Linked DNA regions of Homo sapiens: all the other regions are linked to region 1. The links are contacts of gene promoters, found by promoter capture Hi-C in blood cells and fetal thymus (Javierre and others, 2016). All regions are on one chromosome and are shown on one strand. Each heading gives the region's core, a stretch centred on a gene start or on the middle of the fragment in contact. The rest is flanking DNA. Distances are from core to core; before and after follow the strand shown.

Region 1 (4,516 bases), core at 623-3,122:
TGTCCAGCAAAAATAATTAAAAAGTCAGTTCAATAAGCTGAGAGGGTAGCATCCTAAATGAAGTTGTTGTTGTTGTTGTTTTAACAGTTTTAACGTTTGTGCAACAAATAATTGAACAGGGTTTGTTTGTTTTTTTTCTTTTTAGAGGATCCAAAGGTATAGGTAAGAATGACAAACTCTTAATCAAACAAGGAAGGGGCAATTTCACAGAATATTGCCACTGTTCTCTGAAAACAGGAAGAGCACAGACGTGTAGAGAAGTAAAACCAAATCAAACCGCATGCACAGGGCTTCACTGATCATGACTGGAGTGCATGTTACATTCTCTCTAAAAGCCCCTCCGGTCTTCATTTCTGACATCAGGTTCTAAAGTCAGAACACTACGGTTCCATTTTGCCCTTAGACACACCGGTATGAAGTTCCACTGGGGGAACAGTGCCAAGCATTCAACACCCTGACTGATAAGCAATATATTCAGAAGTCAATCCAAGTCTTCAAGCTGATCCCCTTCCTGGTGGCCCAGACCATGGCAACTCTTCTGTGCATTTGTTGCCTCCTTTACCCTTTGGGACTGGGGGAGGAATGAGATGGGTGAGAGGGCAGTGAGGGCATGGAGATTGGAAAGAAAAAAAAAATGTGTACTTTAAAATTCTGAAATAAAAGGTAGTGTCTAAAAACTCAACAACCTTCTTGGAAGATTTCATGCATTTCTTAAAATTTCCCCTGTCACTGCACCCCCAGCAAACATGCTGGTGGTGAAGGTCCGGGAATTCACACAAAGGGATGCAGTTACCATATGCCCTGGAGAGGTGAACTTTCACCCACTTAAACAGAAAAGAAAAGCCCGGAGTTCCTCTCAGAGTCATGGGCTAACCTCCATCCATTGTTAGACGGTGGAGCCCCAGAGGGGAGTAAGGCCACGGCGCCCCCCAGCCCGGCATTTCCACCAGCTCTACAGTGAATGAGCAGTCGGCCAGCCTTCCGGTGGCGCCTCCACGGTTCCTCCTCCTCGTTTCCTAACACCGGCGCCTCCACAGCAGGTCTCGCCACCCGAAAGCTAACATGCCCCTTCGCAGAGCCCAAAAATAGCACCGCCCTGGGACGTTCAGCTGGAGAACCAGCAAGGCCCCTACACGGCCAGGCAGGGCTAAGCTGGCGGAGCGTGCCTCAGTTTCCCTGTTGCTAGGGCCGTTCACAAAGCACCCAAAATGCCTAGCACCCCGCTTTACGACAAATCTCTCCGCAGGGCGCCACCCCGTTCCGCGCGCCCCGGGAGACCCCCACCCTGGAGGTAAAGGGATGGAGGCCAAAGCCAGGTCGGAGGACTCGGGGGCGGTGCCCGGGGCTGGGGTTCGGGTTCCCAGAGAGAGCCAGAGCCCAGCCTGTATGGGGGTCGGGAGGGTGAGCCCCAGGAGCAAAGGGATCCCCGGGAAGGAGGACAGGCTTGGAGTCCCGGGGCCGGGAATCCATCTGAGGTCCGCAGATCGCGAGGGGAGACCCGGGTGAGGCAGGAGCTCCCATCCTTGGAGGAAGGGGATCGCCCAGGGACAGCAGGGTGGGGAATCCCCAGGGAACTGATCCCTGGCCAAGGTGCGGGATCCACCCAGGATGAATCCAGGTGAGGAGCCGGGAGCCGTGCGCTTAACGGCGGGATTTGGGAACCCGCTTCTGACACGGGCAGCGGGACCGGGACGCCATCCCTCTCACCGCTGGAATCGATTCTTGAACCGCATTGATCCTCTGCTCCTCCTCGGGGGCCAGGAGCTCCGTCTCGTCAGCACCGGCGGCCGGGCGCGCGGCCCTCATGGGCTTGGGCTGCTCCGGAGGCCGCCTGCGTGTCCAGCGGAACCCTTCGGCCGGGTAGGGTCGGAGTGGGCCAGGCCGGGGGTCGGGACAGGGCTGGGGCCAGACCGGGCGGCTGGGGGCGGGAGGGAGGCCGCTTCAACGGCCCCAACACCTCCCGCCTCCCGCCTCCCGCCTCCCCGGCTCCTCCGCCCCGGGGCTCCTGCGCCCCGCCCCGGAGCCCGGCTCCGCCCCCGCCGGCTCTGTTCGCCTGCGTGCACCCGCGGTCGCCGGCGCGTCAGCGCGCCGGTCAGCCAATCGGCACCCCGAGCGGCGCGGCGGCTACGCTGCCATTCATTCCCGCCGGGCTCGGGCAGCGAGGCGGGGCCTCGCTGGGGAGGGGCGGGGCGAGGGGAAGGGGAGGAGCGCGGGAACGCGGCGCCCTTCTGTAAGAGACAAGTTGGAGAAGAGATCGAGGGAGGGAGAGAAGTGGTGAAGGAGGAGATGGACCAGGAAATCTTAAAAGCATTGTGAAGAAAATAGCAGCAAACAAGCAGCCCTACCTCATTCATTTTTTCTTCATCATTAATTTCTCCATCCCTCCTTTCATTTATTCCTTCATCATTTTGAGGGCCAGCTCCCGCGAGGCTATTGTGAGAGGATCCAGGGCAGAATGAAAAACCTGTCCTTGTCTGACCCTTGAGGGAGTTGAGATCTCTGAGCGTCTTCTAACTCTGAGATTCAGTGAGATCCACAAAAGGAGGAATCCTCTGCAAGGATCCTTTTATGTTATCCTCCAGTTTATTTTTTATTTTATTTTATTTTTATCCAGGCAGCTTTCAAATAAACGAGTTGACTTGAATCAGGGTCCTGTCGCTAAACCTAAACTCAGAGGGCTTCCTGGAAGAGAAGTTCAAATAAAAATGAATGAATGGGCCAGGTGCTGTGGTTCATGCCTGTAATCCCAGCACTTTGGGAAGCCAAGGTGGGCGGATCACCTGAGGTCAGGAGTTCGAGACCAGCCTGGCCAACTTGGTGAAACCTTGTCTCTACTAAAAATACAAAAATTAGCCGGGAGTGGTGGCGGGCTCCTGTAATCCCAGCTACTCGGGGGGCTGAGATGGGAGAATCACTTGAACTTGGGAGATAGAGGTTGCAGTGAGCCGAGATTGCACCACTGCATTCCAGCCTGGGTGACAGAGTGAGACTCTGTCTCTCTCTCTCTCTCTCACACACACACACATACACACAGAATGAATGAATGGGTGATTTGTCGAGCCTTTCCAGGATCACTGATGGAAGTTATATGTGTTCCCTTCCAGGTATCGTGTCCATACCCAGCCCCCAGCCTGCAGGCTAGAGACTCTGAAGTGGCATGAGGCCAGCCTGCTAGGAGTGCTCATTCGACCTACAGTAAAGCATTGGAAAGCCAGGGAATTCTGTCACCCATAATTCTAGTTCCCTTTCCTTGAACCTTCCAGAGAGGTGCTTTCCATGCTTCAATCTTCCCAAGAGCTCCTCCAGATGGGCATTATCCAACTTATTTTACAGATAAGGCTGAGGCTTATAGTGGTCAATAAACTTGCCAAAGGCAAAAGTAAGGCTCCTACCTACCTTTCGCTAACTTTAAAGACCCACCTCCTTTCAGTACGTCAGACTATCTCTCCCTGTTTTAAAGCAATACACTTCTCTAAAACAAAACAAACAAAACAAAACTTCATCTACCCGCACCCTCAACACTAAATCGGGAAAATGAACCTGGAATGAAAGTCTGCTTCTTATCAGCTATGTTGGGCCACTGGGCTAAAACATCAGTGCGGGAGGGGAAGGTAACAAAGGAGATAGCTAATAAAGATAGATGAAAAATAGCCATGTGTAATAACATAAGAAGGGTTAAAAAATAAAACAAGGAAGCTCAATTGTAACAGATGTACCACACTGTTGGGGGATTTTGATAACAGGAGAGGCTATGTATGTGTGGGAAATCCCTGTACTTTACTCTCAATTTTTGAGTGATCCTAAAACTTCTCTGGAAAAAAAAAAGTCTTTTTTTTTTTTTTTTTAAAGGGCCAGGCACAGTGGTTTGCACCTGTAATCCCAACACTTCGGGAGGTCTAGGTGGGAGGATCGCTTGAAGCCTGGAGATTGAAACTAGCCTGAGCACCAAAGCAAGAGTTCATCTCTAACAACAACAACAACAAAATTAGCCAGGTGTTGTGGTAGGCACCTGTAGTCCCAGCTACTTGGGAGGTTGAGATGGGAGGATCACTTGAACCTGGGCCACAGAGTGAGATCCTGTCAAAAAAAAAAAAAAAAGAAGGAAGGAAGGAAAGAAAGGCAGTGCTGATATATGTTACAACATGGATGAACCTTGGAAACACTATGTTAAATGAAAGAAACCAGTCACAAAGAACTGCAGATTGTATGATTCCATTCATACAAAATTCCATTTATATGTCCCAGAACAGGCAAATCTATAAAGACAGAAAGTAGATTAGTGGTTGCCTAGGGCAGGGGAATGGGAGGGGATTGAGAAGTGATGGCTAAGCGGTACAATGGTTCTTTTGGGGTCTAATGAAAATTTTCTCAAATTGTGATAATGGACGTACAATTCTGTGAATATATAAAAGCCACTGAACTCTACACTTTAAGTGGGTAAATTGTATGGCATAGGAATTCTATCTTAATAAAGTTGTTAAAAGATTTTGAAAAATTTTAGTTTCTGTAAAAAGGT
Region 2 (4,516 bases), core at 1,226-3,725, 440 kb before region 1:
GGCTCAAGAGCGCTGGTTACAGAATATTCTGGGGTTTAAATTTCCTCTAGAGGTTTTCCATCGTTTCCTTGGTTACACCCTATGTAAATGAAGGAGTGGCCTGCAGCTAATCAGAAGTACTTTCCATTTTTCATCTGCCATGCAGTGCAAAGGGAGTAGCCTCTCATCCTTTTGTGGAGAGGTAGGGTTTTCCTTTTGATTCAGTTCTAGGAAGTCAGCACCAATCAGCCTTAGGCTCCCTGCCTCCAGACCCTATTCTCCTGCCTCACAAGGTCACTGTGAAGGCAACTTTAAAACACAGTAGAAACAGGCTTGTCCCATCTGTGGCCCATGGGCTGCATGTGGCCCAGGACAACTTTAAATGTGTTCCAACACAATTTCGTAAACTTTCTTAAAACATGAGATTTTTTTGCGTTTTTTTTTTGTTGTTGTTGATGATTTGTTTTTAAGCTCATTAGTCAATATTAGTGTTAGTGTATTTCATGTGTGGCCTAAGACAATTCTTCCTCCAATGTGACCTGGGGAAGCCAAAAGATTGGCCACCCCTGCTATAGAAGTTCACAAAAGAAGATTTGAACAAATAGAAAGTGATACCAAATTCCTGGATAGGAAGACTCAAAATAACATCATAGATAACAATACTTCTTCAATTATTTGTAAATTTAGTGTGATTCCCTTACAAATAGCATTGTTTTGTTTTTTAAACAAGATAAGAATACTTTGAATTTAATGTGTAAAAATAAACAACCAAAAACAACCAGGGAAACTTGGTTAACAAAAGAACAAATGAGAGATGATCGGCCTTACTAGATATGATAGTGCCTCTGTAATTAAAATAGAATGGCATTGGTGTACAAATAAACAACCTAACCAAAGGGCCAGAATAAAAATTACAGAAGTAGACCCAAACACTTAAGAGATTTTGTATATGATGAAAGTTGTATCTCAAAATGGTGGGGAAAAGATTTAATAAATGTAGTTGAGACAATGGGGTGGTCTTCTTGGGAAAAATATGAGTTGGATCTGTGCTTTATATTATGATGGATTCCAAATGGATCAAATATTTAAAAATGAAACCATAAGAGTACTGGAAGAAAATATGAGAGAATTCTTTATAACTTTGGAGTGGGCAAGGAGTTTCTAATTTGACCTAAAACCTGGAAATCATAAAAGATTCATAAGTTAGCCACAAACTTTTGTGTAACAAAAAGCCCATAACCCAGAAGAAAAGGGGGGAAAATATATTTGCAATTCTTAATGCTGATAGAGAGATAATTTCTGTAATATTTAAGAACTCCTAGAAACTGAACAGAGAAAGACCTAACGATAAATAGAAGAATTGGCAAAAGATGTAAAAAAAACACAGTTCACATAAAAGAAGATACTGAATGGTTCTTAAAGCATAAAAAAACTCTTCTGCCTCACTCCAACTACCTTGAGATACCATTTTCATCAATAAAACTGGCAAAAATCCAAACGTTATTTAGTATACCATAGTGGAGAAAATTTAGAGTAACAGGCACTATAGTTGGTGAGATAGTAAATTAGTACAACCCTGACTGAGGGACATTTGGCAATTTGTATCAATTTCATTATGGCATTTTTGTAATTTCATTAAATTAATATTTACTATAATTTCTGGCAGAAGATATTTTTATCCCTTTTATTTTCTCTATTTTTTGTCCAGTGAAAAGAACTGGTTTTATTGAATACCATGTCTGAGAATATAAATTACTAAGTCTTACTCAAACACCATATGCGTTATGGACAGATTTTTTTAATCTGATGAGATTTCTAATTACATGGGATGAAGATTGTTTTAATGAGATCATAAGTAAACAGACTTATCAAAGAAAAGCTCTAATTTAAGTTTTCTGGAATAGATTCATCTTTAACAACAAGATTTTTTTTCTCCAATGTTCCACTTTCTCTGTTTTTGCTGACCTGTTTGCCTCTTATGATTCACCAAACTAGAATAACAATATATTTGTCTTCAATGTTCATATTTTTAGTAAAAGAACAGAATGTTTTCCTTCTGTGTTATTTATTAATTATGGGAACTTGAGGGTGGTTTGTGTGTGTGTGTGTGTGTGTGTGTGTGTGTGAGTGTGGTGAGTATGTGTATGTAACATTACTGGAATCCCTGTTGGCTGAGGGCCTTGCAAGTTTGTATAAAGAGAGAGTAGGAAGCAGGCAAAGGAGAGGGAAAGGACAGGCATTTTATGATATTTAAGGACATGACAATGAATACCACTGTTGGGATGGATAAGATTAAACCCACTTCTGTTTAATCAATAGTGTCATCTTTATATAAAAGAGATAACACATTACCACTCCTTACTCTCTCATTCCACTTTTTTGGTGAATCAAACTTTTTACCTGAATTAATTTTCCAGCATACTGTAGTAGAAACAAACAGCTTGGGTTTGGAGCAAGAAAGAGCAGGGTTCAAACTCTACTTTACAACTAGCCTGTGACAATGGACAAGCCACATACTTTCTGTATGACTTATTTTTCTTTTGTATAAAATTGGGTTAATAATACCTCCCTTGTGGGGCTCCTGTGGGAAGAAAATCCTGTAACATGGTGCCTGGCTGTATTCGTGTTTAATGATGACTTAGATCCCAGGTTACGCAGCCTTTCTCCATACTCCCTGTGTATACTGCTGTCAGAGCACTTCACCCCTCCTGATCTCATCTCATCTTTGGCACTTAGGACACTGCCAGCATGTTAAGTGAATGGAATAAACACCTAAATTTTATTTTAAACCTTAAAATAGAAATGTTTTAAAATGTCTTGTTAAGTATATTATATGGAATCTATTGTAGAGTAGCATTTATACATCATTAGGCTTGAATATGTTCCCAGGGGACCTGGGGACCTGTGTCCAGTTAGAACAACTCACCAAAGATGAGGATCTTACTCACTTTGGTACCAGTAGAAAGACTGCTCAGTTTTTCACATCTGCTTTTGAGCAAGGTGTTACTATTCTTACCTTACTTAATAGGAGGAGATGCTAAGAGGTTAGGCAATTTTTCTAATGCCATATTACTAGCCCATGGCAGTATTGCCATTTGAACTCTGCATTTCTTTTCTTTTTTTTTTACTTATGTCTAGTACATTTTCCACAATATTAAATAAATACATTTGGAATACATAGTGTGTGAAACATAGTGCCAATTAATGGTAGTTGCTATTATTGTTATTATTTGAGAATGACCTCTCTTGAGGTTTGAGAATCTGCTCCATGCGTGTATCATTAAAGCAGTCTATAATGAACTTATGCAAACTTAGTTTTAGAATTGAACTCTCTTCCATGACTATATCAGTCTTGTGGACAGCTGCAGTGGCTCTTGACTCTGAGAGACTACTAGTCAAAGCCCAAGGATTTTAAGCTCCTCCCTCAGGTGGCCCTTCTTTTCCTCATGGGTACTGAATAACTTTCTTACTTCATGGTCATTGGACTTTTGCTACTGACATTGTGGCTTGGTGGCTTCATTTTTCTGGCTGCTGTTGATCTGCATGCTTCCACTGTTCCTGTTGCTTGCTACTACAGAGGGCGTGAAAGTCGAAATGTGTTTTTACCACCCAGACCAGTGAATACATTGCTATGTTAGGGTCTCAAAAGTAGTTGGCTCTGTGTTTGGGGCCCATTCAGTTAATTTACGGAAGAATCTATGATTTCTTCTGCATACAGTGGTTGAAGAAAAGATAGGATGATCCTCTTGATTTTAGTCTTTAATCTCTCAGTTTTGTTCTCCCTAGAACTTTTTGTTTCTGAGTCTTCAATTTCTCTGGGACTCTCTTTTTCTTTTTTCTTTTTTTTTTTTTTTTTTTTTGAGACGGAGTCTGGCTCTGTCGCCCAGGCTGGAGTGCAGTGGCACGGTCTTGGCTCACTGCAAGCTCCGCCTCCCAGGTTCACGCCATTCTCCTGCCTCAGCCTCCCGAGTAGCTGGGACTACAGGCGCTGCCACCACGCCCGGCTAATTTTTTTTGTATTTTTAGTAGAGACGAGATTTCACCGTGTTAGCCAGGATGGTCTCGATCTCCTGACCTCGTGATCCACCCGCCTCGGCCACCCAAAGTACTAGGATTACAGGCGTGAACCACCGCACCCGGCCAGTTTCTCTGGGATTCTTTAAGATATGTTCCTCCTGCACCTGTTTCCTAGGCCAGAATTTTGTTGTGAATCAGTTGCTGATGTGCTGATATATTGATTCTCCTCAGCTTTTCAGAGGATATCAGCTTTCTTTACCTTAGTATGCCATACAAATATTACCATTATGTGTGTGCTCAGACTTAAAAAATGTTTAAGAAGCACTGCCCTAAATTTCAGCTTCTTCACCCCTCTTTTACCAATTATCACCCAACCATCTTTTTTTTATCTTCCAAAAACTTGTTCAAAATTTTCATCCAATGGCTCTTTTCCCATTTACTCTTCAACATTCTGAGTTTGTACTGTTTGTAACTCTTTACCCTAAGACTTTCATATTAGTTGGCTCTTGGGAGGGAAAGA
Region 3 (4,516 bases), core at 721-3,220, 420 kb before region 1:
ATGGACCTCAAGCCTCAACATTAAGTCTTTTTTCTTCTCCTCCTGAAATACTAATCCCAAAGACCTCATCCACTCCCAAAACAAATAATGACATTTTATCTTCTTGTGAGGTAAGTCAGGTAATCTTAAATTTCTCTATATATGCACTCCATAAATTCCCTATACATTTTTACATTGGTTATGTACATATAGAATTATTTCAGTAAAATTGTTAACAAATTAATATTTCTTTGAAAGATTTTTTTCTATTTAAAATTTTTATGCTGTGTTTTCAATAAACATATTTTAAGTCAGCATGTCCTGTGTCCAGGAGCATGATTGGTTAGAAAATACCAGCATGACAAAATGGTTCCACAAAGATATGCCTAGATATCACTCAAAACTATGTTAAGAATGTCATATTTGGTTTCAGTTGGTTTAGTTATTTGCCATTTCTGTTCTCTGCTTGACTGAAGTGAGGCCATCTTCCTTTTTGTTCCTTAGCTTCTTTCCCACACAGTGAGGCTAATCCCAGGCATCCAATCTAAGAAGGTATTGCTCCTTCATGTGTGCATGCTATAGTTCACCCAAGTAGAATCACACAAAATGGGGAATTTCTATATCAGAATTAACATACTCAATTACTAACTGCTATATTATCTGAACAAATTACAGTTACAGAATAAAGTGTGTATTATTTATATCTGTGTTAGCTGTAAAATAGGAAACTTAAGCTTTTAGTCAGTAGAATAAAATTCATCAAAGGTAACTTCAGTCTCTGGTACATGCTGAACAGAGACAGAGTATAAGATTTTCTGTCAGCCCCTTATACTTTGTCACTTGGAGCTATAATACTTTTAAAAGACAAGATGAGTGGCCTTATATTTTGTTATCCTTGGATGTGGTAGAGCTGAAAGCAATTGTTACCTTTAATTCTGAATTGCTTTGTTTGAAGATGCATATACCAAAATTTTAGAGGTTTCATATTTGAGGGATAATTACTTTAATCTCTTTAACCATTCTTTTTATGTTAACATGGGCTTCAAGTGACCTACTTTAGTAAATGACATTGCATGTTCCTCATTTTCTTTCACAGATAAAAACTGGATACAACAAAACAGTACAGATTCCAATTACTTCAGAAAACAGTACTGTGGGTTTGTCTAATACAGGTAAATACACATTTAATTTCTATTTCCTGTTTTTTATTTCAATTCTCTCTCAATGAGGAGTGTGTAATGTGACTTAAGACTTTGAAGAAGGGTGAATTATGTCTTTGTTCCTTCAGTGAACGAAAAAGTAAAAATAATGTCTTTCCGTTGGGCCCTGTTAAAGTATGACTTTTATTAGATATTTCCCTGAACAAAGAGTTGAAGTTTCAAAAGATGCATTGTCATAACAGTGTTTATGAAGCTGTAATAATTAATGAATTGTTTAAATCAAATAATGGAAAGTCTTCTATAAAGATCAAGATTAGGTTGCCATGTCCTTTTAGTGCAATACTGATGAGGCATATTAAATACACCTTTCGGAAAACACATTATAGAAGGGAGCATACCTTAAGAAAAGAAATGTATCTTGTTTTTTTGGAAGAAATCATATGGATATCAATTATAAAGGGTGTCAGTATTGTTAATTCATTATTATTGATTCTTAATTACCATAAAATGATTTACTGACTTTTTAAAACAATAAAGCGTTAATTATCTAAGCCAAATGTAAAATAAAGATTTTTATGTGGCTATAAGGTGCTTACAGGATCAATACGAAGAAAAAAAGCCCCCTGAAATTATCTCCAAAAGTTAAACACAACAATGATAAAAAGACTAAACATAACTGAAAAACTAATTATATATGCCTAATTATAAGGTAAATTTTTACCTGTATATTTTAATTTTGTTTTAATAGCATTATTTATATAAGAACTGAAAAATAAGGAAGCATTAATTTAAATTAAATAGCTACCAATCTTTTTTTTGAGATGGATTCTTGCTCTGTCGAAGTTCCGCCTCCTGGGTTCACGCCATTCTCCTGCCTCAGCCTCCCAAGTAGCTGGGATTACAGGCGCCTGCCACCATGCCCGGCTAATTTTTTGTACTTTTAGTAGAGATGGCGTTTCACCATGTTAGCCAGGATGGTCTCGATCTCCTGACCTCGTGATCTGCCTGCCTTGGCCTCCCAAAGTGCTGGGATGACAGGCGTGAGCCACCGCTCGTGCCTGGCTCAATAGCTACCAATCTTTACAGGAGTTTATACTATATTCCACAGTAGTTTCCTCCGATTTGGGGTGGTATTTACCAGTGGGTTAATAGCAATCTTAAGCCATGAGTTATATTACCTTTTACTTAGATTTATTGACCAACTTTATAGCATTATTCCTCTTACATAATTAATTTCCAGTCTCTGCATGTACTGTATTTATTTTAAACTGGGAACCCTTATGAGAAGAAAAAGACAAATGAAACAGTCATGAGATGAGCATCAAAATTGCTAGATGATGGAAGTCAGAACCCTTTATTCCTTGATATTATAAAATATTAATAATTATATAACATGTTTTTAACTTTTAAAGTAATTGAACTATTCAATGCCTATTTTAACCTTTTATTCAGTAAGGTTTTACTATGTTATATGTGTAGAATACAGTACAACGGGAATTATGAAGAAATTAGGATATTTTCTGTGAGATACTTAATAGTATATTGTGAAATAAAACATGGGGCTAAAAATTATAATTATTGAAATTAGGAAACATTCTAATTTATATGCATGTATTTGTTTATAGATGTGTGTGTATGTTTATTTTATCAAGCAGCTACTATTTGCAGTTTTTTGTGTTAATCAGAGCAGGATATGGGTGGTTTTGTTACTCTAAAAAGCATTCTGTCTTGTGGATGAATAACACATTTACACAAATTATGTAAAGACATGAACAAAGAGGCCTAAGGAAGGAAGTAGTGAGTGCTATGAGTATGGTATAAGGAAGGCACAGTGGTTACCACCAGGCTCTGAATACAGACTCAGTGTTCAGGTTCTTGCTTTCATCTTATTAGCTCTGTAACCTTGAAATAGTTACAAGTTACAAGGAGTTGTTATGAGGATTAAACAAGATCTTGCATGTCAAGCACTTATATTGTAATTAGTGCATAGTATATGCTTACTAAATTTTCCTGTTACTAATAATATGGAACCTATAGCTTAGAGTGTAGCTCAGATAATATTCTAGGTCATGTTTATAGAGCAGAAGGAAAGCTTCCAATTCTTGATTCAATTTTATGTCCTCCCCTTGACCCCAAAAACTAGTATATAATAAGGAATCTGTCACAATATGCAGAAATTAAGAAAAATTTCTTGGCAAAAGTCAGACATTATCCAAATCTTGAAAAAAGTGGTAAACATCAATTGATAACTGAACACAGGAGATCGTTTCAAGTTAAGGAAGCACCACAAATAAAAGCATAGAACTAAGGATGAGCTAGATGTCAGATGATTCTAAGAGTCAGGTGTGATTAGAGCAGAGATCTTGTTAACAATGAATAAACTCAGGTAAATTTATACCAGTCGCTATAAGAATAGTGGTAGATTTTGTAATAGAAAAATAGGTTAGTGAAAAATATATTTAAGTAAGTTATAGGTAAATATTAAAATACAATTAAGACGGAACATTTTTCTAGAGTAGAAAGTGCATCAACTCAGTCTCATTTTCTTCTACATAAATGTAGTAGGCAAGATATTTCTGGGGAGTGGAAAAAAGGCAAAATCACCTCTAAATTATCTCTAGATAACTTATATACATTGTGATTTGCATATTATAAGTACCTAATTATAGATTGTTACAAATCAGAAATTAACCATCACTTCTAGATTTCTTCAGTTACCTGATGCTAATACAAAAAATATAAACAAATTTTAATGTTAACCTCAACAAAAGTAAATGTAATTAGATAGTTCTATTTCTGTTCTTATCTAAAAATCATCCCAAAGTGTAAAATAGGTTAGAATTTTTAAAATCCACATAATATTTAAATGTTTTAAAAATGATGCTATTATACAGAAATTTATTTCAAAATCCAGAGTTGTTTACTAGTGCTATATATAAGTTGAATAACACATGAGTTTGTAAGTGAGCTAACAATATACTAAAGACATTTCTAAGGATAGCAATAAACAATTGTTGCAGCCAGGTGCGGTGGCTCACATCTGTAATCCCAGAACTTTGGGAGGCTGAGACGGGCAGATCACTTGAGGTCAGGAGTTCGAGACCAGCCTGGCCAACATAGTGAAACCCTGTCTCTACTAAAAATAGAAAAAAAAAAAATTAGCCAGGCACAGTGGTGCACGCCTGAAGTCCCAGCTACTCGGGAGGCTAAGGCAGGAGAATTGCTTCCTTGAACCCAGGAGGCAGAGGTTGCAGTGAGCTGAGATTATGCCACTGCACTCCAGCCTGGGTGACATAGCAAGATGCCATCTCAAAAAAAAAAAAAGAATTGTTGCATGAAGAAATACAGTCATTATTTTAACTTTACTAATAGCGCGT
Region 4 (4,516 bases), core at 1,261-3,760, 390 kb before region 1:
AGAAAACTATCTGTAGCATTTTTATGAAGCTAAAAAACCAGTAAAACAAAGTAACATGTTAGGAATACATATGTATGTGATAAAACCATTTTAAAATAAACAGATCAAGAATGATAAAGAAGAAATCAATAGTTCAGAATTCATTAGTATGGTTACCTCTGGTGAAATACCATATCCATATTGTGATATGAATCCAACAGTATTCACAGTTTTATGCTGCTTAAGTGGATTCATAGGTGTTTTATTGTCCTACTTTAAAACTCATGTTTTTTTACATATATGCTTTTAGTATATACCAAATATTATATAATAAAAAATTCATGGGAATAGTAAATCAAATATATGATAAGTCTTACCTCTGGGAATAAGTTCAAAAGGGGTTTTTATATGTTTTGGTTACATTCAAAAACTGAAGTAAATATAGTTGACTGCTAAGCTTTAATGAAGCAAGATAGTAGATATCTATTACTTTATTATAGTATGTCCTATAACTTCTGTATTAATATTTTATAATTTTTTAAAAAATCCAGATAATTCTTACAGCTGCTGAAGTCATTGGCATAAAGCAAAGAGCACTAGCACTTTGTAGCATTGTGTTCCATAGTGAAAAATTGTGTATAATCTAAATGATTATCAGAAGGAGAATGCTTTAAAAAAAGTTCACTTCAGACAGTGTACAAACATAACAATTTTAAAAAGCATGCAATATTTGTAAAATGTACAGAATAGAAAGGAGTAATATATTGATAATTATTAACACTATAGTGTGACAATTTTTGCAAAAAATCCACAATTTATATAAATTTATAGGTACTATATTCATAGAAAAAAACCTGAAAAATTAGACACCAATTGTTAATATGGCAATTGTCTTCAGAGCAGTGGTTCTCAAGGGCAGGGCTGCAGTTTTTCTTCTTGGGACATTTGGCAGTGTCTGGAGACATTTTTGGTTGTCACAGCTGGAAGATAGAGACCAAATTCAAAATCAGTAAAGATACTTCTTAAAACCTCATGTATGAAAATTTAAAACATATTTTAAATAATTTGTGAGTCAAAAACATTGCTAATAAACATGTAAATGATGTTTAATTGCACTTGTAATTAGGGGAATTCAAATTAACAAACAGCATACTATTTCAAATACAACATTGACAAAATAAGAGTGGAAACAGCAGATGCTGTTAAATCTCAAAAAGGAAAAAAAAGAATGTAGAAAAATAGAAATGCTTATTCACTACTGGTGTGCATAAATTAATGAAGCCAGTTTGGAGAACAATTCAACAATATCTAATAAAATTGACCATATGTCCCCTATGGCTTAGCACTTCCTTTTCTAGGGATATAATGTAGAGAAATTTTCACACATTTTTACAAAGAGACATGTATAATGTTCTGTAATTTAAAAAAAAAAGCAGATTGGAGTAGTTATAAAAGCCTGTTAATCAGGGAATGGATAATAAATTACAATAAATTCATACAACGGATTACTGTTCACAGTTAAAATAAGTGAACTAGTTTTGCAGACAATATTGAGCAATTATGAAATCATAAAATTGAGGTAAAAATAAAAATAATTTGTAGAGTTACTCTTTAAGATTATGCTTTTGAGGTAAAAGCTTAAATGCACAAAATAAGAGTACATATTATTAGGGGATACTTGCTTATGTAGTAAATGTCATTAAATTAAGACCAGGAAGAATACTTAGGATAGTAGTTCCTGCTGAGGAATAATTTATAAAAACTTTTAACCGAATATATAGTTTTATTTATTGAAAATATATACATAAATTTTAAGTACATATCAATGAGTAATTGATGATAGTGAGTATATAGGTGTTCTTTGTATTATTATTTTTTGTGTTTATATTTGAAACATTTTTATAACTGAAGAGAAAAAAATACAGAAGCTAAAAATCATTATGCCATGTTATACAATGCAAATACTTGACTACTATACGAGATAAGCAGATGATGCTAGACTAAGCTTAAGAATCATTTTTGAAAGAATCTTTCCTGATATTCTTTCTCCATTCTTCTTTCATTGTTCCCAAATTGCTCACTTACAGATTAACCAGTTGCTTTGTGTATTAATATACCCTATACATACTTCTATTAAATTATGTGTTTTACTTATTTCTTTACAGTTGTTCTCACCCTTGAGACCGTAAACTCTTTGGGGTGAGAGACTATATTTCATTTATCTATCACCTATGCATAGTTTAGTGGCTGACAAATAGTAGGCACCAAATAAATTATTTGATGAATGAATTACTAAATGATTGAACGAGATTCTAAAGGAGGAAGAAATATGTAAGAGATAATTACCAATACTAAACTTTGCCTACATTTTAGTTTTGATGTGATCGACACTATATATGCTCTTGCCATATCCAATAATAGGACATCCAATTAGTCCCTTTGTGTTAGTTAAGATTAGATTTTGCTATATATAACTGGCGAACTCAAAATAACAGTAGTTTCCTTTAGAAATTTCTTTCACACCAAAAAGAAGCCTGAAAGAAGGTAATCCAGGGCTGCCGTGGAGGTTTCAGAGTATCAGGGACCATGTTCCAATTATCTTTCTGTTCCACCATCTTTACTGCGGTACCACATGAACCAAAAGAACTGCTCAAATTCCATCAGTTCCTCTTTCTTTCCTTCCTTCCTTTCATCTTTTTTCTTCCTCTTTCTTTCCCCTTACTAATCCGCATGGACAAGAAGTGCTTACCCCGACTTTTGAAAGGAGACTTCCTAATAGTACTCTATGGCACTTCCCCTTGTATCTCATTGGCTAGTACCTAGTTAGTTACATGGCCGCATGGAGATGTACAAGGGGCTGGGAAATGTCTTTTAGCTGCATGGCAGTGTTTTCAGCCGAAAATTGTGGTTGGTTCGGTTACTAAGGAGCAAGGAGAGAATGGACATTGGAATACAATTAACAGTCTCTGAATTTTTAATCACTAATGGATACCAAAACGAGAAAGAACTTTTCCCTTAAGGGGAAGAGCCTGATGAAAGAGAGAAGTAAGTGGCAGAGAAAGCTTTTTAGTTTACTATTTGTGTAAGCCTGCCCCTAACAAGCCAAAAATTAGAAGATTTTATGTTGAACCTAATTCCTATCAACTTCAGTTCTGCTCTCAAAGGCAAGATGTTAACCAAATATAATTCATGTTTTAGAGTGTCACTTGTAAATCTGATGTAGTAGGATTCTTTTGCCATTTTACATGTGCCAAATCATATAAACTAAGAAATAGTTTGATTTTTGGTTCTAGGACAATGTCATAAATTTGGTATTAGCTAAAGTGCTAGTCTTGGGGAAAAAATGAGGTAGTAGTAAAATCAGGAAGCTAATCTTCAATAGGCACTTAATCCATAAAGAGCTGACTTCCCTTGGGTGTTTAATCCTGGTCGACTGTTTCTGGTATTGATTATTTTCCCTGGGTTGTAAAGTTTGTAATGAAAAGTTTTATTCTTTGGAGATTTGAAAAATTGCTTTTCATGAGTCCTTTATCTTCCAGGCTCTAAATTATCTTGGTATTCAGCCCACAAAGGAACAACACCAAGCCCTGAGACAGCAAGTACAAGCAGACTCAAAAGGGACAGTGTCTTTTGGAGGTAATATTAGGTTTATTGTGTTGTATTATCACTGAATCATCATTCAAGAGTTATGGTGACACATTTTCATTAAGAGTGTTTGTTCTTTAGAAGGAGAGAATGAAAAGTAAAACTACATCCATTTCAAGGTCCTTAATCAGTACCCAAAGAACTCAGCTAGAATTACTGACCTGGCAGGGTCAGCAGAAAGAAGAATTTCATTAGGACCTTTCAGCTCTAAAATATCATCATTCTGTCATATTCTTTTTATTTTTTATTTATTGCATAAACATTGCTTTAGTAATAACAAAAGAAACAGTACAAAATATGGAAGTTCTAATTTCACTACTGTGAGATTAATTCGAATCCTTTTTCAGCTAATATAATATAGTAAATATTTTTATGATGCTACCTAATTAGAGTCATCCCTTGGTATGGGAGGGGAATTGTTTCCCGGACCCCTGCATATACCCAAATCCAGCCATACTCAATCTCATAGACAGCCTTGCAGAACCCACATATAGTAAAAGTTTACCCTCCACATATGTGGCTTTTCCAACCTGCAAATACTGTATTTTTTATGCATTTGGTTGAAAAAACTTGATGTATAAGTGAACCTGTGTAGTTCAAGCCTATGTTGTTCAGGGGTCAACTCTATTCTTATTAAAGATACCATAATGTACCACTTAGTTATTGTACTATAATATTAAGCCTTTCTACTATTGTGAATTTTGATAGTTTCTCAGTAGCTGATATTACAAATCTGTATTTATCAACATTATGAATGTAGCTGTTTTTCTTTCTTAAGCCAAATCCTCACAAATGATTTGGACTTTTGATACATATTGGTAAATTGTTTTTCAGAGATATTTTGCACATATATTCGTTCCACCACCAGTAATGTTTGAATATAACACTTTTT
Region 5 (4,516 bases), core at 677-3,176, 370 kb before region 1:
TCCTGTGGCATAGTCATTAGATTGCCATATTATATTCATTTTCATATACCTTCATTTCACCTCTTAGACAAGAATAAGCTGAAATATACCAGAAAGGATATTGCCTTTTTTAAACATTGTAATATTGCCATGAATCTTTACCACTCAATTTAATGTTCGAGCAATTCCTCTGTTCAGGTTTGTATTTAATGGCTCTTAAATTACTCTTAGTATTTCTGATTTGACCAATAAAATGTGAATTTATTTAAGATATAATTAATAAAAATGGACATCGTAGGGTATATGCTTGACTTAATTTCAAATCCAAAGATATTTTATGTGTATGTATAATATTAATCTTAATAACTATTATTTTATGTTTTGTTTACATTAGTCATATATGCCTTTTCATGGATAATCTTCCAAGAATAAGCTAAAATTAAATTAGGAAATTAAGAGGTGAGCCAGTCTCATATGCCCTCTTTTGTATGGTCGAAGACCTTTAATTCTAATTTGTAATAATAATGCTCTTCAATTTGGTATCTCTTTGGCAATGATAGCTTAACCAAAATTGTGTTAATATTTACACATTTGTATTCTTAACTGGCTTCTGTTAGAGCTTATATTTTGAGATTTTGCAAAATTAAGGTAATAAAAAGTATATTTACATCACAATTTACTGTAAATAACTAATTACTTTTAAGTGCCTCATGTAAAGCCAGAAAAATGACTAGGAGCAATATTTTCAGATTGTAGCAATTTGATATTTGGGAATATAGGCCTTGAAACAAGGGACTAAGAAGTCACACTTGTTAATACTTTCATAACAAGTTGTTAATTTGGTGGTTTTTAAATATAGGAAAAATTATTGGAATCAGATAAGCAAAGGAAACAATTGACAGAAGAGCTCCAGAATGTGAAACAAGTAAGTATATGTATTGTGTATATATGTGCTCGTGTGTGTGTGTGTGTGTGTGTGTGTGTGTGTGAACATATGAGGTATAATTATAAAGCAGTGGTTCTTTACAATATCCCAGAGCTTCCTGATACATATTACATAATACAAAATAGCACAGAGCTTAAAAGCAATCACTTTTGGAGGCTGTACCTATGCTAAAGTCTTGCTACTATTGCTCAAAACAATGTTAAAACCTCTTTGAAATTTCTTTGAAAAAAACATATCCATAGACCAAAATAACCAATCTCATTACTTCTCCATTGTTTTTTCTTTTCTTTCATTTCCCCTTTTTTCTTTTTCTTTTTTATTTTGTTACTCATACTTCATTTTACTAAAGAACAAAAAAGTCATCAAGGCAGAGCATTTTTTACATTTATTTGTTAATAATAAAAAGCAAATATTTATTTTCACTTTGCATTATTCTTCAAAGAATTTGAGGTAGCTCACTATAAAACAAATATATGACAATATCATAAAATGAAAACCCAAATGACAAAATATAAATAAGAGAACATTGTTAGAGATCAACAGTGATCACCTGATTTTGAATCTCCCTCACACAGTCCCCCTAGAAAACATAAAATCAACAAAGAAAGCAGATAGAACCATACAGGACCCATATTTTGAATATGACTATGTGACAAAAAAACACCACAGCCTTTAAAGTACATATAAATACAACAAGAAAAATAATAATTCCAACAAAACTTCTGAAGCTTGCCTTTACTGAAACCTGGAATACAGAGAACAGAGGAGGCAAGGCTTGAAAAATTCTGAAATAAAGAGTAGAGAGAAACTATGAATTAGATGAAGAACAAACAAAATCACCCCCAGAAAGAGAAAAGGTAAACATAAATGCCAAAATACTGGCCGTATGTCAAGACTTGGTGGTTCTTAGCACTAGCTACAAAAAAAGAGACTTCAAGGTATGAATGCAATCAAAAATGGCAGCCTTGAAGAATCATTGTTTCTGAGGAAGAACCAGATCAATAGAGAATGGATAGAATTCCTTGGAGACTTCGCAATGATAGGAAAGAAGGAAATAAGAAGGGAAAATTAAGGAGCTTATAGAAATGAAAGCAGAACACAACTTATTAATCCACCCACCCTACCCTATGACCATCAAAACAAGATCCATAGAAGAAACTGCACAGAAGAGAGTGCTCTTGAACTAAGAACTTTTTCTGTGAAATAAAAAAGTATAGAACAAAAATTCTATCTCCATCATTATAAAACGACTGAAAAAGTCAGATGATATCAATGAAAGCTTTCCTCCTGATGAAAACTTTCCAAAACAATTTAACCACAAAACTTAAGAAAAATGTAACGTCACACTCCATACTCAAGGGAATTTCCTCAAATAAGCATTTGGGCTATGAAAAACACATCTCAAATGAGAAACTTAAAAAATAGTAATAATAGATATTGATCACCCCCAAAAAAATCAGGAAAAAGTGAAATGAGAGTTGATAAAACTTAGGAAAGAAGGAAGAGACAAAATCCTATCAGAAATGAAAACTAAATTACAAGTTGCTCCAGGAAGAATATAATCAAGTGAAAAGGCAATGAAGAAAACAAGAAAAGCAACTAGGAAAGTGAAAATATAATCAAGAAGTAAAAGAGTTTCTTAAAGAAATCAATCAAAATAACTGAACAGCCTAATACTTAGAACTATAATCCAAGAAAACTTTCTATAATTAAAACAAGACCTGAATCTAATATAGGTACTGGGGAAATCTGACCTGGAAAGATTACTGTACAATATATTCTAGTAAAATTATTAGACTTTAGAGGAAAATAAATGCACACTGCCTCCAAGTAAAAAGATTAAGCAACTTATGAAGGCAATAGAATTAGACCAGCATTGGGTTTCTCAAAACAACATGCAAAGTAAGGCAATAGTGGAACAACATTTTCAGGACATGAAAGGAAAGAAAGAAAGTATACAAAAATGTTTTATATAGCCAACCTGACTTTAAAATATCAAGGCCATAGAAAACAGTTTGTGATATACCAGTACTAAGGGAATATTTCACACATGATATTCCTGAAGACCTTCAGATAGGATGAGTTTTATCCAACTAAAAAATGCCTAAAATAACTTTGGAAAATGTTCCCAAATGGTGAGAACTTCATATATTTTATTGTACAGGTGAGACTAAAATGAGTCAGTGCATGGATGAAAAAAATAGCATGAACATTACATGTGTTAACAAAAGTCAAAAGATGCAAATTTTTTAATGGGAGGATAAGAAAGAAAAAAGAGGAAAACAGAATACATCATTTTGTTATATAAGCAAAGCGTAGCAGTCAATAAATATTTAAAACTGATATCAGATAAAAATTAGGTAAAAATAGAGGAGATAGCAAGCACTTAAAAAGTAATAATGGAAAGGTAACCTATAGAATGAAAATACAAACCTTCATAAACACCAAAAAGAATTTTTTAAGTAAAAAGGACACACAAAGAAATGAGTAAATATACACAATAATTTCAACATAAGAAAATTTTATAGAACTGCAACCAAACATAATGGTTATCTTAATTAACATGAATAAGATCAACTCACCTATTTTTTAAAAAGTTTTTCAAAAAATATAGTTTGCCAAAACTGACCGGAGTAAAGATAGAAAGCCTAAAAGGCCATTTTCTGTAGAAGAGATAAAGTAAGTTATCAAGAAACTATTCTAGATAAAAGGACCAGGCAAGATGGTTTCACAGAGAAATTTAACCAAACCTTTGACAGTCTCAAAACTATATAAATTGTTTCAGGGTATAAAAAATGAAAGAAATTTTCCAAATTCTTTTCATGAAGCAAGTATAGCGTTGATGTATAAACTTAATAAAAATGGCACAAAAAAGAAGATACAGTTAGACTAGAAAAGCAATTAGAGGCATATGACTTGGAAAAGAAAAAATAAAACTGTCTTTTTTTGCAGATGATATGGTAGTAATCTGGAATACCCTAGAGAGTGATAAAAGTAACTCAGTAAGTTGATAAGCTAGCAAGATATAAAATTAAGATGCAAAACTAAATTGCATCCATATACACAAATAATAACCAGTTAGAAGTTTTAATAGTTAAAGAGAAACCAAAATTATATAGAAAAATAGGCAAAAGACCTGAACAGATAATTCATCAAAAAAGCTATAAAAATGTCCATTAAACAAATGAAAAGATACTCAATCTCTTTCTCTCATAATAAAAGAAATGCCAGTTAAATCTATACTACCATAGAACTTCTAGCTTCTAAAATCATTAAGTCAAACCGTCTAAAGAATGATGACATTCATTGGGGGATGACGGAGGACATCCCCCAATAAAAAATAACTCCAGAACCTAAACATTTAATAATAAGCAACTACCAAAGGAACTGGAGAATGAACATCATCAGACAAATTGCTCCTCCTGGAAGAGAAGCAGAATATTAACATGTACCTAGAAGTAAGAAGTAAAAATTACATGAAATGGTATTCTTTTTGTTTGTTTGTTTTTGTTTTAGACAAAGTCTTGTTCCATCCAGGCTGTAGTGCAGGGACACGATCTCAGCTCACTGCAACCTCCACCTCCCGGGTAC
Region 6 (4,516 bases), core at 2,017-4,516, 350 kb after region 1:
TGGTCACCCTAGCTGTGGCATAGTGCAAAGAAACATGGGAGAGAAGAAAGAAACTTGGGGTAAGCCATAGTTCTGCTGATCTCTAACTATTCAAGAAGGACGTTGCTCATTCTGGAACCTTCATATCCGACCTATGAATGTGCTAGACTGGGTGACTCCGTTCCAGGTTAGCTGTAATGGATCAAGGAATCCTAAAGGGGAATTAAAGGGCTCAGAAGCAAAACTATTGGTACTCTAGTGACATCTGGTGGTTATCCTGAATTTAAAACCTCTGACTATTTTTTTGATGTCTGATTTTGTTTCATTGCATTCTATCAAGAATATTGATTATGCTATAGAATGGCCAAGATTTGTTGGCTTCTTTTATTTGTGCTGTGTTTTTCTATCCACTAGACTCTGTCCCTGGGCAATAAGCTTTCAGTGGAAATTAATCGGTTTGACTTTTTTCTAGAATTTTATACCTTATGAGTTAGTGGTTTATCATAACCTAAGAGGTCATCTTTTTTTTTTTTTTTCTTGAGACATGGTGTCATTCTGTCACCCAGGCTGGAGTGCAGTGGTGCAATCATGGCTTGGCTCACTGCAGCCTTGACCTGCTAGGCTTGGATGATCCTCCTACCTCAGCCTCCAGAGTAGCTGGGACTACAGACATGCACCACCATACCTGGCTGATTTTTTTGCTTTTTTTTTTTTTTATATATAGAGATGGGGTTTCACCATATTTCCCAGGCTGGTCTTGAACTCCTGGACTTGAGCAATTGACTCACCTTGGCCTCAAAAAGTGCTGGGATTACAGGCATGAGCCACCATGCTTGGCCTAAGAGGTCATACCCTTATTAGTTGTAGCTAAAAAGGCTTCCAGATGCATTAACTTCTTTTGCTTTCCTTTAGAACTCTATGAACAAGAATGCAACGGAGAGACTGTGGTCTACTGGGAAGTGAAGTACCCTTTTCCCATGTCCAACAGAGACGTATCCTTTCCACAAGGTACTCATTCCCTGGCCCTCTAAGTGTTTCTGTGTTCCTCAGCTGCAGTCTATTGCAGAGAGGTAGAGCTGGTTTCTCAGCAGGCACAGATAACATTGTCTCTGATTCTTGCAGCAGCATTTGCTAAAGATATTGCTTCTTGTATGGTGTTTGGAGAGCTCAGAGTGTGATTTCTGGGCCCAACCACATGAAGTGTCTGTAATTTTGGTCACTGGAGAGCAGCTCTTACTTTCCTAAGAAGTTTCCTAGGCCTTGAAATTGTCAGGCCACAGAATTGGGGATCTGGAAGGAACTTCTTATAAAAAGTGCTTGTTACAGCTCCCTCAGTCTACAGAAGGAAAAAGGGCTCCCAAAGAGGTGATAGGACAGAGGCACATAGGTGGTTAGTGGCAGAGCAGGTGCTGGAACTCAGGCCTCTGCATTTCCAGCTCTCTCCGCCTCCCCCATCTCAGTAGACCCCACAGAAATCCCTCCTTGATTGTTGGCTCTGGACACTGACTGTAAGCTTCTTCCCCTCAATGTCCTTGTTTATGAAATGAAGCAGTTGAATGAAATGTAGGGAGGCTTGGCTGGCACTGTAAGGTCTTCAGAAGCCCCCTTAGGACTAAGCTGGGGGGCTAGGATGGAATTTTGGGGGTGGGTAGGATGGAAGTAGGATGACTCCTAGGTAAGATTTTGACTCCTTCACCATGCTCTTCAATCCCAGCAGCGGAGTGTTTTACAGGTTCAATTTCCATGTAAGATCCTTTTAGCAAAGGGTCTCTTGGAGTCAAAAAAAAGTTTGGAAGCCACTGAATTAGATGAACTGCCAACACTTCAAAGGTGTTCTGCCAAATTTTAATCACTATATCAAGATAATTCTTCCTCCGTGGAGTATCAGATGATATCTATCACATGAGCTGAGAAAGTTGGGGGAGAGAGTGGAACAATATTTGCTAAAAGGAAAAAGTAAAAGGTGTAGGAGAAAGGAACCCAGTGACAAATCAACATCTCTTTCCTGAAACATTTAAGAACTTTACTTATTAGTGTATAAGAGCATGGAGCAATAGACTGTCCAATGTGAGGGTGGGGCAACAGGGGGCGCTGTCAAGACACTGAGGTGGGACTGAACGCGGGTGGCTCACGCCTGTAATCCCAACACTTTGGGAGTCCAAAGTGGGCAGATCACTTGATGTCAGAGTTCGAGATCAGCCTGGCCAACATGGAGAAACCCTGTCTCTATTAAAAATACAAAAAAATTTAGCTGGGTGTGGTGGGCGCCTGCAATCCCAGCTACTCCGGAGGCTGAGGTGGGAGGATCACTTGAACCCAGGAGGTGGAGGTTGCAGTGAGCCGAGATCGTGACACTCTACTCCAGTCTGGGTGAGACTCTGTCTCAAAAAAAAAAAAAAAAAAGACACTGAGGTGGGTGGAGGCTGAGACGGCTGCCATGTTATAGTAAGTGTAATTGTGTTGTGCGTAGTGACTTTTTGATTATTTTAGGTTTTTGATTCCTTTGAGTGGGAAACCCAAAATTCTGTTTTATGAAAGTGTAACTAACAAACTAAATATCTGAGCTCCATCCAACTATGAAATTCTAAGTAGGTTTTGGAGCCAGATCTGGGATAAAAATTCATGTTTCATCACTTCAGCTGGGATGTGGGATTTTTGGCAAGGTTCTTTTCCTCTCTGAGCCTCACTTTTGTCATCTGTAGTATGGGGATACTCATACCAAACTCACAGGGTCTTTGTAAGGATCCAAATTTAAGCTGTATGTCAAGTGCATGATGTTACATGATAAAGGCTCGATAAGTAGTGATTCCTGTTGTTTCATAGACTTTCATTATCCTCCCTAGAATAGTGCCGTAAACTTAAGGGTTCTTCTGTCAAGGCTGATGGACATGAAATGGTTTTGTTATTCTTGGTAAACTAGTGTTAGCCCAGAGAGGACATCTGCCTACGAAATATTCATGTAGTCCCATGTCTTCCTATGGTCATCAGCTGTAACATTGCTTGACCATTTACTATGCATAAAGGTCAGTAATTAGAGCATTGGGTGAGGCCAGAACAAAGAGGAATGACACCATTGTCTGTCGAGTGCTTACTCTGCCCAGGTCTTTCTCTAATGCCCCCACCAAGCCTGTCTGCAAGGCAGTGTTACTCCCTTTCCTACATAGGGAATCTGAGTCTCAGCAAGGCTGAGTAGCTTACCTAGGACCACACAGCTGTTAAGTGACCATTCCTCTGTCATCTCCCAGTGCCTTCTTGGAGAAAGGAAATGTGGTTTCCTCACATAATTAAAAGCATGAAGGGATCACTCACAGGTAAGTAATACATGCTCTTTGGTGAGAATACTAGGTGGTGTGAGGCACAGTCTTGCAGTGCAGGTATGGAGACAGGGCACGTCAGTGAACTAGTGGTAGAAAGGAGCAAATGCCAAGTGGGAGGCACAGAATCACCTCCCTTTGCTTCCAGCTTGTGGCGCTTTCCTTCTGTCTGTCTACAATGCTGGCGTTGGTGTCTTGCCTTAACTGGCTATGCAGTATGTCTACCTTCGGCAGCGGCGAGACCTGGACATGGAAGGGAGGAAGATCCATGTGATCCTGGCCCGGAGCACCTCCATGCCTCAGCTTGGCGAGAGGTCTGGGGTGATCCGGGTGAAGCAATACAAGCAGAGCCTGGCGATCGAGAGTGACGGCAAGAAGGGGAGCAAAGGTAAAACCCATGGTGCCTGTCAGTGCACCCAGCCAGGGGTCCCCCACGGGAGGGCCAGGCTGATGGGGGGACATGTCGAGTACATGAAGCGTATCCCTGAAGGTCAGAGGACAGGCAAAGCTGCAGAGCAAACCAGGATCAGCACCTAGAGAGAGCCTCATTCCACCCCAACAAACTTGAGTAGAGTATGAGGTTGATGTTTAACTCTGACCCAGTCTATTTTCTCCAGACTCATGGATTGTCCAGATGAAACCAGACCATTATAAGTAAGCCAGAGAGTTTAGAAAGTCACTTCCAGCTGGTCCTGTGGATACATACGCTGGGCCTAAGGGTAGGCAAGAAAGCTGGCAGGTTTGTCTTGGAGGTCTCAGCTCTGGCTCAGTACCAACTCAGAGCTACTCAAGACCTGCCCAGCTTGAGTTTCAGCCCCCAGGGAGGAAAGCTGCAGACAGAGAGTGGGGTGCGAGGCCACCTGCTCTACCAGAATGAGTGTGGCCTTGAGTCCTAGGCAAAAATCTGAACTATAGTTAGATGGTCACCTTGAATATGTCACCTAATTTTTATGAGTATCTGTTTCATCAGTTATAAAATGGGATTAATTTTACCATCTCCTTAGGATTGCTAGAATAATTGAATGAGAGGCTATATTCAAGTGTCCAGCACTTGCCAGGTATTTAATAAATAGCAGCAAAATGTGTCTATGGCTGTTTTCAAAAGTGCCTATATTTAAGTATGCCATAAGGGCAGTCAATGGAGAGAAGTCCATCTGAATTATATGCTACCTCCCTCTGCAGTTTCTGAGCTTGAATATGAAGATATAAAGTTTGCACAGTTT

Evidence for each region. Contacts are between HindIII fragments. The CHiCAGO score rates a contact against its expected background, and 5 or more counts as called.
Region 2: a contact is called between a fragment that was not itself captured here and the fragment with the promoter of MMD in region 1, in 10 of 17 cell types (non-activated CD4 T cells, total B cells, naive CD8 T cells and 7 more). The highest score is 11.9, in non-activated CD4 T cells.
Region 3: a contact is called between a fragment that was not itself captured here and the fragment with the promoter of MMD in region 1, in 5 of 17 cell types (total CD8 T cells, erythroblasts, total CD4 T cells and 2 more). The highest score is 7.8, in total CD8 T cells.
Region 4: a contact is called between a fragment that was not itself captured here and the fragment with the promoter of MMD in region 1, in 1 of 17 cell types (total B cells). The highest score is 5.8, in total B cells.
Region 5: a contact is called between a fragment that was not itself captured here and the fragment with the promoter of MMD in region 1, in 3 of 17 cell types (erythroblasts, total B cells and naive B cells). The highest score is 5.4, in erythroblasts.
Region 6: a fragment that was not itself captured here is called in contact with the fragment with the promoter of MMD in region 1 in 1 of 17 cell types (monocytes); the score reaches 6.0 in monocytes.

Annotation. Positions count from the first base shown.
Region 1 is chr17:55,419,963-55,424,478 of GRCh38, forward strand. It overlaps MMD (monocyte to macrophage differentiation associated), which reads right to left and starts at 1,873. Exons shown (of 7, transcript NM_012329.3): 1 at 1,708-1,873. The coding sequence starts at 1,733. RefSeq lists a silencer at 1,814-2,273. The HindIII fragment of the contact is 12,161 bases long and covers 1-4,516 here.
Region 2 is chr17:54,980,522-54,985,037 of GRCh38, forward strand. All of the region lies in intron 1 of STXBP4 (syntaxin binding protein 4), which reads left to right. Among named protein-coding and RNA genes, the nearest start is that of STXBP4, 14 kb to the left of the region's middle. The HindIII fragment of the contact is 5,509 bases long and covers 1-4,516 here.
Region 3 is chr17:54,999,733-55,004,248 of GRCh38, forward strand. STXBP4 (syntaxin binding protein 4) reads left to right here. Exons shown (of 18, transcript NM_178509.6): 6 at 1-110; 7 at 1,076-1,151. Among named protein-coding and RNA genes, the nearest start is that of STXBP4, 33 kb to the left of the region's middle. The HindIII fragment of the contact is 2,518 bases long and covers 712-3,229 here.
Region 4 is chr17:55,027,650-55,032,165 of GRCh38, forward strand. It overlaps STXBP4 (syntaxin binding protein 4), which reads left to right. Exons shown (of 18, transcript NM_178509.6): 9 at 3,519-3,615. Among named protein-coding and RNA genes, the nearest start is that of STXBP4, 61 kb to the left of the region's middle. The HindIII fragment of the contact is 1,057 bases long and covers 1,983-3,039 here.
Region 5 is chr17:55,046,251-55,050,766 of GRCh38, forward strand. STXBP4 (syntaxin binding protein 4) reads left to right here. Exons shown (of 18, transcript NM_178509.6): 12 at 839-904. Among named protein-coding and RNA genes, the nearest start is that of STXBP4, 80 kb to the left of the region's middle. The HindIII fragment of the contact is 551 bases long and covers 1,652-2,202 here.
Region 6 is chr17:55,770,215-55,774,730 of GRCh38, forward strand. It overlaps PCTP (phosphatidylcholine transfer protein), which reads left to right. Exons shown (of 6, transcript NM_021213.4): 3 at 892-971; 4 at 3,510-3,681. Among named protein-coding and RNA genes, the nearest start is that of PCTP, 21 kb to the left of the region's middle. The HindIII fragment of the contact is 3,553 bases long and covers 1,491-4,516 here.